Linked DNA regions of Homo sapiens: region 2 is linked to region 1. Evidence: promoter capture Hi-C in human tissues and cell types (Jung and others, 2019). All regions are on one chromosome and are shown on one strand. The core of a region is centred on a gene start or on the middle of the fragment in contact, and the rest is flanking DNA. Distances in the headings are between cores, read along the strand shown.

The links. Contacts are between HindIII fragments. The study calls those that stand out against the background at their distance.
Region 2: a contact is called between a fragment that was not itself captured here and the fragment with the promoter of MAP2K3 in region 1, in 2 of the 25 tissues and cell types used here (dorsolateral prefrontal cortex and spleen).

What each region holds. Positions count from the first base shown.
Region 1 is chr17:21,281,189-21,286,900 of GRCh38, reverse strand. MAP2K3 (mitogen-activated protein kinase kinase 3) reads right to left here and starts at 2,190. Exons shown (of 12, transcript NM_145109.3): 1 at 1,932-2,190. The coding sequence starts at 1,980. RefSeq lists enhancers at 482-541, 2,618-3,118 and a silencer at 2,202-2,731. The HindIII fragment of the contact is 7,420 bases long and covers 1-5,712 here.
Region 2 is chr17:21,428,862-21,434,573 of GRCh38, reverse strand. No RefSeq gene overlaps it. Among named protein-coding and RNA genes, the nearest start is that of KCNJ12, 55 kb to the right of the region's middle. The HindIII fragment of the contact is 9,626 bases long and covers 1-5,712 here.

The DNA.
Region 1 (5,712 bases), core at 941-3,440:
ACATCCTTCCCCAGACCCCAAAGAGACTACAGAGTCCCTGGGCCTGAGGGAGGTCCCTGACCCTCCATCCAGCCCCCTCAACCTCATCTAGGACCTGGGTCCACATCTAGAAGTTCATTTTGGCCCTCTCACAGCATTCTCACTGCATCTATGACCCCTCTCCTTTCACAACTCTGCAACTGGAACTTTTATTTTGATGAGGCATTCTCTGCCTGGAGAGCTAAAAAGCCTCCAAAACAAACAGTGCTTCCTACCCTTCCCCGAGCTCTCCAGAGTGGAGAAGTGTCTGATTTCCTGGTTCCCAAGCTCCACGAGGTCTGTGCAGTGCAAGTCCCTCCCCAGACACCTCCCCCGTCGAGTGCCTCCCGAGTTACTCACAGTGGTTGGGCAATGGTCAGGGATCCGGCCTCCCACTTATGTAAGGCATAATTATCCAGCCCACCCGGCTCCAGCCACCATAGCAGCCAGCAGCAGGGGCCAGGAAGAGCCCATGCCCTCCCCAGGCCCACATAGGGCTCCCATTGGCCTGCACCCTCCAGAACAGAAGAGCGGCTGACCCCTGATGAAGTGCCCACTAGGTGCCCGCTGCTAGGTGCTTCCTCCTGCTCACTCTGAGGCTGCACTTCCAGCAGTGGAGGCCTTTCCAGCAAGAAGAATGGAAACAATAGCGAGATGTGTGCAGCCAGTGTACCCTGGTGAGCACCGGCTCTGCGCCAGGTGCTACGCTGAGAGAACGCCTCAGAGCTCTTTACTATTCACCACCCCACACCACACTCCCACGTCCACAGAAGCAGGTGCGATTACTTCCAATTTACAGAAAAGGAAACTGAGGCCCAGAGACACCAGGGAGCTTGCTGGGGTGAAGCAGCTGCAGGTTCAGAAAGCCAGGAGGCAGCCCATTCATTACGGCTATGTCCGGTTTGGAAATCTCTCGCACAACCCAGCCTACTGAAACTCCGACGCACCAAAAACATCCTTTCCTCTTCCTGAAAAAAAAAAAATTCCCCTTTTGCCCTCCGAGTTTCATCCTTCCCCCTCCGCATGACAAATCCTGCTGCTGCCACCTCACAAAAATTTCCAGGAAGGCCAGCTACTTGGAGAAGAGCAAATCCCTTGCACAGCCAGCACCCTGGCCTGGCGGCTGGCCCAGATCCCAGGCAGCCAGGACAAGAATAAGATGGGGTGAGAACCCCCAGTGCAGGGAGAAGCTTGCAACTCAAGACAGAGAGAGGCCGGTAGAGAGGGGGCTGTACCTTAGGGAGGGGTGGGAGGACAAGGAAGGTTCCTGGGAGCCCAGGGCTGCAGGACAGGGTGCAGGCCAGCCAGGGAAGGGGCAACATAGGGCCTATAAGGATAAGAAGAGCTGGGGGAGAGAAGGACGGGGAGTTCCGAGCTGGGGTGTAGCCAGAGCACCCGCATAGGGGGTACAGTGAGGTCCGCAACAACAGGAGCACTCTGGGGCCCAGATGGAGACTCAAGTTAAATCCCAACCTGGATACAGCCCTGGGACCCGAAGCTAGAAATGGGACTGGGTGCTGCCCAAGGACCCAGGTGAAGGCCAGTGTGAATCTCACCTGGGTCCCGCTGAGGGAGAAGACTGGGAGAGTTCATGTCCAGGCTGCAGCCATAAGGCCCAAATGAGGTCAGAATGAGGCTCCTGACTTGGATGGGGTGAGCAGAACAAAGTCCTAGTCTGGGTCCAGCCTGGGTGATCTCGGGCCTGAGTGCAGTCCCAAGGCCTAACGTGGGGGTCCAGGTGAGGGCCCAGGCGGGGGCTGGTCCCGGGACCCCGAACAGGAAGGGGTTCCGGGACCGGACGCCGCTGCCAGGTCGAGAACAGGATGGGGTGGGACCAAAGAAAGGTCGGGGTTTGCAGCCCGGCCCCAGATTAGGCGCGGGGTCAGGCCGAGGTCCCGGCCGGGAGCGCCTACCTTTGGACTGGGGCATGCTGGCGGGCTGGCTCGAGGCGGGCGACTCCATGCTGCAAGTGGGTCCTGGACGGCGGTGGAGACTAATCTAGAGGACTGCGGGCTCCACCGGGGCCGAGCACGCTCATGGCTGCGGGCAGACGGCCCAGGCCAGGCGGAGGAGCAGCGGCGGCGGCGGCGGCGGCGGCGGCGACTGCGGCGAGGACTGCGGCGGCGACTGCAGCAAGGACGAGTCCGCGACGGGCGGCGCCGGAGACAGACTGGGCAGCGCCGGGGAGACCCCGGCCGAACTGCGCTGACTCAGGCCCCGCCCCTGCGTGCCCGATTGGTCCTTTCGTTTCCAAGGCCCGTCCTCTGCCTATCAGACGCCGGCCTGTCCCTGCCTGTCAAGCACACGCCCCACCCTCCTTAGGCCCAGGATCCGGGCCCCTCCCGCTCTCTGTCAAGTCCGCCAGCCGCCCGAAAAACCCAGGTCCGGTCAGGCTCCGCCCCCTGGACTAAAGCCGCGCCCCTCGCGCTGCCCGTCAACATGCAAGCCCCACCCACTCCCGGGACCCACTGAGCCCGCTGCTCCCTGCAGGCGCCCAGGCCCAGCCCGGCACCCCCAGACCCGCAGCCCCGGCGGGTGCGATGCGCGGGCGCGTTCTCCTGGGTGCGTCGTCTGGAAAAAACCCGAGATCCCTAAAGGTGGCACGGCTGGGCCTGCCGAAGTGGGCGGGGGTTAAAAGTGCGCTGCTGGGCTGCCTCCTGGCTCTCTGAACCTGCAGCTGCCTCACCCTAGCAAGCTCCCTAGTGTCTCTGGGCCTCAGTTTCCTTTTCTGTAAATTGGACCCGGGTTCGGATCCGAGTCGGCAGCTTTGTAGCGGAACTAGCCTTGGTCAGGTGGTGACACCTGAGCCTCAGTCTACGCATCTGTGAGCGGGCGGCGGTGACAGCTATCTCCCGGCGCTGCTCGCTAACACGCACTGAGGGCCTGGCGCCAGCAAACGTCGCCCGCGCCCGCGCTCCAGGCGCCCGGCCAGGGCGCGGGGTCGGTGGTGAGCTCAGCGATGCCCGGTGACGAGGCAGCACGAGGAGTTTTCGTGGCTGGTTACTGCTGCCCCTGTTCTACACAGGGGGAAACCGTGTCTCAGAGGGAGTGAGGCGGCATGCGGTGCATTTTATCCCGCGAGCCCCGAGGCCCCATCCTGGCTCTCTCCTGGACCTTCGTTCTCTCCTCTCCTCCTAGGATCTCAGTCTGCCCATCTGCATAATGGCTGGATGGGCCAGTCCTCCCTCTGCTCCCACACGGAACCTCGGGGGATTTCAGGAACCGCTGACCAATCTGGCGCTGGGAACAGATGACTCTGGATGTAAAGCCAGGGCTAGTGAAGGCAGAATGTACCAGGCAAAGGTCAAGGGGTCAGCCCCTGGCCTCCAGGCAGACATGTGTACCCTGTCAGGGACCTCACGTGAGGGAAGCAGATTCCACCACCTGCTAGAAAGGCTTGAGGCCGGGCCTGACCTCTGCTTGCCCAGGTGTAAAGTGGGGGTGATGCAGGGCCCCATGCACAGAGTGGGGAGCCACAGGAGATAAGAGGGAAGCCTTGCAGCCATCACCATTCTCTTCCTGCGTCTCCTGTTCACCCTTCCCAGGCAGTGGGATGGAAAATCATGAGTCTGGGGCTCAGATAGGTATGGGTTCCAATACCAATTCCTCCACTTACTAGCTGGATGACCTTAAAGAAGTCACTGAGCAGCTCTGTGCCTCAGTTTACCTATCCCATGGGGACAATAAGGTCTCTGAAAGCGTTTCATGAGTTCAGGAGTGGAAACACCTGGCCTAGGGCTTGGCACTCACTAGGTGCCCAGGAAATGTGAGTTTGAAAACACTGTGGGCTGCCTCCATCCTTGCCATATCATCCCTGGTGACCTGTGCTTATCCGTCTGTAAAATGGGCATCCAGGAGCAGCTTCCTTTCTACCAGAACTGCAAGGCTAGTCCAGCGAGTTTTCTGGGTTCAGGCACTGGCCAACAGCCTTGACTTCTGCACAAGGCCACACTCCGCCTTGTGCACTCTGCTTCTTGGGATGTTCAAGAGTCTCAGTATTGCCCCTCAAATGTGCCAGGGATGGTCCTGCCGCAGCAGCTTCACCCTTGCTGCTCCTGCCCAGAACATTCTTCCACTCAAGCCTCCTGGGGCTGGTTCCCTCTCATCCCTCAGACCGCTTCCTAAATGAACACCCCTAAGAGGCCTTCTCATCATGGTCCCCAGACTGAGGCACAACACTTATGCTGCTGATGTCTTTGTTACTGACTCAGTTTTTAACACAGCTCTCCCTCCAGACCATCCGAGCCTCATTCCCTGCTGTGTTCCCAATGCATAGCCCAGAACCAGGCACATAGTAGGTGCCTGATAAATATTTGAGGAATGAAAAAAGGAAGGAGGAAAGCATCCACAGACCAGGGTGAAGCGACTCCAGTCCCGTGCCAACCTCCTTGGCGGCCAGATGACTCAGACAGGCCCTCGCATACAAGGAGTTTGGGGATTAGTCAGGAGCCCGATAAACAGCTCAGGAATCACAAAACTCCATGTGAGTGCTATAAATAGATGCATGAGCAAAAGTCCCAGGAGGGTGCCTGGGTGATGCAGCCATCTCCATCTGGGTGGGGACAAGGAAGGCCTCTCAGAGGAGGTGATTTTGAGACTGGACTTTTAAGGACCAGTAGGAGCTTACCAGGCAGAGAAGCAAGAAGAGCATCCCTGGAAAGGAACAGCAGAGGCAATGGGTTGGAGATGTAAAAAGGGCCACACATGAGGACCAGGTGAGGGCCAGACTGGGATGCACAGCTGCACCACTGGAGCTCAAGAAGTACCATCAAGAACCATCAGAGACAAAGGTCTCTTGCTGGCTTGCTATAGTGACATCTCTTGATTTCTTTCTGTCTGTAAGTGGCACAGTCAGATTGGGGAACTCCATGACCATGCAGAAAGCAGAATAAATGTTTGACATGGGTCACAAGAGGCTGCCTCTTACCTTGATTCCTAGGAGAAAAGTCCCAAACCTGCTCTCTGTGGATGCAGGAAACTGAGTCTCTGGATGGGAAGGATTGTGGCCAAAGTCAGGATGCAAGCATGATCTGAGGTGGGCAGGACCTGGGGTGACAGAAGGCTGTAAAGAGAGGCTGACTCAATAGCATTAACTATAAGTTTTGTGCTTCCAAATCACTTTTTGGTTTTTAAGAATTTCTTGATACTATTGTAGCCTGCCTTCGATTTTGATCCTTTATTCTTTCTATTTGTCAGGTGCACAAGATTACCTTCCTTTTTTAGCCTTCTGTCTTGTCACCAACCATTCCTACTTGGTGGCCATGTACTTGGAAAAAGGCCGCATGATCTTTCTGGCTCCAATCAATGTCTAAGGCACCCTGCTTCCTTTGCTTGCATCCCACAGACTATTTCCCTCATCCTATTTACTACAGCAAATCTCTCCTTAGTCGATGAGATTGTGTTTATCTCCCTTTAAAACCCTACCTATCCTGAATGGTCTGTCATTGTCTGCCTTTAAAATCCTTCCTCTTTCTTCTTCCTCTATTCTTTAAATAATGATGGGGCTAAGTTATACCCAAAGCATCACTTTACAAAATATTTCCTCGGTACTTTGCAGAAAACACCAAACAAAAATGCCATTTTAAAAGAGGTGTATTTTTTCTTTTAAAATGTAAGCTCCTCAAGGGCAGGGAAATGTTTTCTGTATGTTCTATTGTGCCTAGTACACTGTAAATGCTCAATAAATACTGATGA
Region 2 (5,712 bases), core at 1,824-4,323, 150 kb before region 1:
TCCCTCAGCTCCAGTTCCTGGGATATTCTAAACTTCCCCCAAACTCAGCACAGAGAGGAAAAAACACTGTCCTTCCTTGGTAAATAAATGTATCCATTCAGGAAGATTCAGCGTGGCTGGTAGTGAGAAGTAAGGCCATCATGTTGCTGGGATTGAGGATGGAGGAGGACTTTCTGGGTGACTCAAGGAAACTGCCATGTGTGAGCATGGCCCATGGCCCTGCTGCTCTGTTACGGGCTGTCAGGATCTGGCTGGGAAAACATTCCCTAGAAGCCTGGGAGTGGGTGACTGCAAGGTTGCTTGGTTTCTCAGACGCCACCTGTGACCTTCTTATTGTGTGGAGCTCTCTGACACTCAGGCGCACAGAGCTGCAGCCCTCCGCCCTCTGCTGTGCTCGCAGAGGTGGGTGCCCTGCAATCACAGGGTGGCTCTGCCTGGGCCTTGATCACCCCCTTGGGTGGACTTCTTTTCCTTGTGTTGGCTCCAGGCATGAGCCTGCCATCCTCTGGAGGCTCCAGGCAATGGCTCACTTGTCTCTTGGTGTCCATATGCCCTTTACCCAAGAGATGGCTCTGCTGCTCAGTAGGCCTGGGCTCTGCCCAAGGCTTCATGCCATGGCTAGGTTTACCCTTCCCTCTCTTCAGAAGAAGAAATCACTGACACTAAGTTCCTCTTATTGGACCCCATGGCAGGAACTGGGGTGCAGGACCTGCTCATCTTCCTGGGCAAGGGGTCTTGAGTCCCATACACCTATTTCTCCCTCCACTGCTAAGGGTCTCTGGCTGCTCTTGAGTCGAAGACAGATTCTTGTCCTGTTTGCTGCCCTCTGTAGCCTGTGAGCAGAACCAGAAGGGACACTCTCACAGCCTGTTCGCCACGGAATCCAGGAGGCAGGTCCATTTTGGTGAGTTTGAGATCCTGAGAGAGCATGATTAAGAATCATGTGATCAATAATCTTACATGGGTTTCATTGAGATCTGTCTCGTTTCCGTGTTATTCATTTTTAAAATTGATTGATCCTGTGTATAGTGTAGGTGCAAAACTAAGTAAAAAATAAATACATACTACATATATATACATTGATTTTAAAAATATGGTCTTCTGATCCTTCTCCACCAATCTCAAATAAAGAATTCTTTTCTACATGGATTTCTAAATTGTGGGGCATGGAATCTCAGCTGTTCAGGCACATGCAGGCTGCATTCTGCAGGGTCCAGCCCCTGAGACAGCTCCTGTGGGTCCCACCAGTCTGCCAGAGGCTAGCAGCACTATCCAGCCCAGCTCACCAAAAGGGAATGGCATGGCCCAGAGACTCCTGCATTGGGCAGGTGGCAGGGGGCAGGGAAACTGGTCCACAGCCTGCACTGCAGTGTGGGGCTTAGCCCTGGAAGCCTGCCCCATGCCTAGCAGGGGGTCGGTCCCTGCTCAACCTATTCTAGACTACTGCCCTGCTCAGCCTCTGCCCTGCCCAACCTATTCTAGACTACTGATGTTTAAATCTCCCAAGAGTCCCCATCCCTAGGTCTTTCCATCCCAATAATAGATTTAGAAAAATGGGAGTTGGGAAGGGAAGATGAAAGTCTACTGCTTCAGTGGGCAGCCCTTGGGTTTCATTACCTGATTTGGGTACATGTTTTTTCCAAACTGGCAAATGTGGACACCACAGAATGCAGTCAGATGGCAGAAAGATGATCCCAACTCCATACAAATGAAAAAATGGAACCAAAGTTCCAGGGCTCACTAAAATGCAGAAGAAACCAAACAAAATTCTTCATCATCTGAAGCTCACAGCCACCTCAGGCACCTGAGCAAAGAATGTGCTCTCCTGACTAGAGTTTAGGCCCACATCACAAAGCATCCTGAGCTCTGGGAGGGCACGAAGGAGGCAGGTGAACCCTTCCCACCATCCAGCCCAGTGAATCTCCAAGCCCACTGGGCCACCAGATTCTCACATCATTTGTCACTGGGGAAATGAAACTCAAAACCATAATGAGATAGCACTTCACACCTACTAGGATGCCTGTAATGTTTTTAATGGAAAATAACAAGTGTTGGCAAGGATGTGGAGAAATTGGAACTCTTGTATATTGCTGGTGGGAATGGAAAATGGTGCAGCCGCTGTGGCAAACGGCATGGAGTTTCCTCAAAAAGTTAAACATAGAATTACCATATGGCCCTGCATTTCCATGCCTAGGTATAATCCCGAAAGCATTGAAAATAGGGACTCAAACAGATACTTGCATGCCAGTGTTAATAGCAGTATTATTCATAACAGCCAAAAGGGGTAAACAACCCAAGTGTCCAGCAACAGATGAAGGAGTGGGGAGTGCATCAAATGTGGTGTATACATACAATGGATTGTTATTCAGCCATAAAAAGAATGAAGTCCTGATACACACAACCACATGGATGAATGCTGAAAAAATGATGCTAAGTGAAACAAGCTAGTCACAAAAGGCCACATGTTGTGTGATTCCATTTATACAAAACAGCAAATGCCTTAGTCTGTTATGTGTTGCTATAAAGGAATCCCTGAGGCTAGGTAATTTATAAAGAAAAGAGATTTGCTTGGCTCACAGTTCTGCAGCCTGTATAGGAAGCATGGCACCAACATCTGCTTCTGGTGAGGCCTCAAGGAGCTTCCACTCGTGGCAGAAGGGGAAGGGAAGCCAGTGTGCACAGAGGTCACAGGGCAAGACTGGAGGCAAGAGAGAGAGGGAGGAGGTGCCAGGCTCTTTTTAACAACCAGCTCTCCCAGGAACTAGTAGAACAAGAGCTCACTCACCCTGAGGGAAAGCACTAATCTATTCATGAGGAATCCACCCCCATAACCCAGATACCTCCCATTAGGCCCCATCGCCAACACTGGGGATAAATCTCAACGTGAGATTTTTAAGGGGTCAAACATGCAAACTACAGCATTCTCCCCTATTGAATGCTACCAAACATTTAAAGAAGGATTAAAGCCTATCCATTCCCCACCAGGTGGCTGTCTCCACAACATGGCTTTTTCCCCTTGAAGACCATCAGAAGAGCCTGTATCTCCGCATCTGCGGAAATCGTCTTTGCCATGTAATGTGCCATAACCATGGGAGTGACATCGCATCACATCCCAGGGCCACCGCTGAGGAGGAGGGTGAGGATCTTGACCCTTATCTTAGAATTCTGCCCTGCCTGGCTTCCACTTGTCCTCTTCTAAATCTATCTTAACTCATTCCTTTGGTGCCTGTTTTTACTGCCTTAATTTTGGCAATAAAGGGAGGAATAAAAACACATCTTTTTTTTCTTTTTTTGAATTCTCATTACATCCACACACAAGAAATGTGTCACATGAAGGAAGTGTATTTAGAATACCAGTTTTCCTATTTGGTTCATGATATTTTTCCAGGGTAAAATTGCCAACAGAATTTGGAAGCCCAAAGCAGGACATGATATAAATTAATGCTGGTGATCTGTAAATTATATTTTATTTCATAAAATGGTAAATTTTCCCCTTTAGTCTGGTCAATTTTATGCAATTTGGCATCACATTTTATAAACGTATTACCCTTTTGAACATTTACTGAACTGAATGCACAAAGAGAATTATAAAAGAAAATCTGGAAGCACTTGTTGGTTTTATTTTAAGGTTGGAAAAGAATATAAAATGGAATGCATGTATTAATTTTGGCATGGATATATTCATTTCCTGTGGCTGCTGTAACAAATTAGCACAAACTTGGTGGCTGAAGACAACAAATATTTATTCTGTCACAGTTCAGAGGCCAGGAGTCCTAAACCTGCCTCACTGGGCCGGAATCAAGGTGTCAGCAGGGCCGCGCTCCCTCTGCAGGCTCCGGGAGACCCCAATCCTCGCCTCCTCCAGTTTCTAGTGGCTGCTGGCCACCTCCACCCTCTGCCTCCGTGGTCACATGGCCACCTCCTCTTCTGTCTGTAGTAAAATCTCCCTCTGCCTCCCTCTGATAAAGACACATGTGATTGCATTTAGGACCACCTGGGTCATCTATCATAATCCCCCACTTCTCAAGACCTTAATTTAAATCACATCTGCAAAGATCCTTTCTCTGTGTCAGGGAACTGTCCTAGGTTCCAGGGGTGAGGGCCTGGATAATTCAGGGGCCGTGATTCCACCCACTGCAATGTGTCTTCTCTGACCCTGCTTGAGTGTGCTGGCAAGGACTGCTGCCTTGTCATCCATTCGTATTAGTGTCTGCAGCATTTGGCAATATGGTGTTTCTATTGAGAGAAAGTCATAATCAAGTAAAATTCTTTTTTTTTTCCTTTGCCTGAGAGAGAAAAATCTCCATTCCACTATTCTCCCAGATCAGCTGCTTTTGGAAGGCAGGGAACAAGGCAGCATCAGTGAATTCCACAAGCACTGACCCGTTGCCACATTCCTTTGATATAAAGTAGCTTCCTGAGTCAGAGCAATTCTGAGTGGGACACCATGATGGTGAAAAGGTCTGTGGTTAACAGATCATACTTCCATGGAAGGATTGCGGGCAGAGAAGATAAGCCCATATTCAGAGTAAGTGCCTCTTCCAGGGAGAACATCTTGCTGCCCTCTTCATCCTGGAAGTGATCAAATGCAATCAGTCTGCCACGGGGATCCTGGGAAAAGGTGTCACCTCAGGCTTTTCCTTGGCTTGTAGACAGCCATCTTCTCCCTGTGTCCTCACATGGTTGACCCTCTGTGCACACCTTCATTCTAATCTCTTCTTATAAGGACATCAGTCCGATTGAATTAGGACCACCCTCATCACCTCACTCAACTTTAATTACCTGTTTAAAGATCCCATCTTCAAATGCAGTCACATTCTGAGGCACCAGGGTTAGGGCTTCAACATATGAATTGCGGGGACACAGCCCATAGCATGAGGAAAACAGCTCCCTTGCATTTGGTGGGCGAGCACAGGAGGAGCCAGGGGTGGAAAAGTCCTTTGATAGGTGAGGGATGATTCGGATGAAAGGGACAGAAAATGCAATTTAGAAAGTGGAGTTTGGGTACAGCCTCATCACGGGAGCTGCTCTGCGTTCTCGGGTCATGCAGGCTGGCATCTAATGCCAACTTTCCCCTGTCCATCAGCGCCTGTAGCCTCCACGTCCTCCTCACCCATGGTGGCCTCCACGGACCCCACTCAGCCCCTTCCATCAGCACCACCTGCTCCCCATCTATCACTTCTTCCTGGGAGAGCCCCACTCTTGGTCTTTTCTAAGCCTGCTTCATAGTAAGTGGCTGAAACCTGTGGGATAAGCTCCCATTAGCTTGTAGATTCTGCTGCCATAAATGTATGGTCTGACCATTGGTCAACTCCAACACTGTGTGGGAACTGTCCATCCATCCGTGCGTCCATCCGCCCATCTGTCTGTCCATTCATCCATTACAGATAATTTGAAAAGTGCCTTCCTTATGAGCTAGAATGTCTGTGCACAAAACAGACAAAGTTGGCTGCTTCTTGGAGCTTACATCAGAGATCTCCAAACTTTTTCTATAAATGGTGAGATATTAAATATTTTAGGCTTTGTAGGCCATATGGTCTCTGTCACAACTACTCAATTCTGCCATGGTTTTGTAAAAGCAGCCATCAACAATTCATGAACAATTCATGAAATGAGTGTGGTTCTGTGCCAAAGGACATTGGGATTTCATTCCACGTTCATGCATCATGAATACTATGCTTCATTAATAGAGCACAAAGGAAGCCTTCCTTT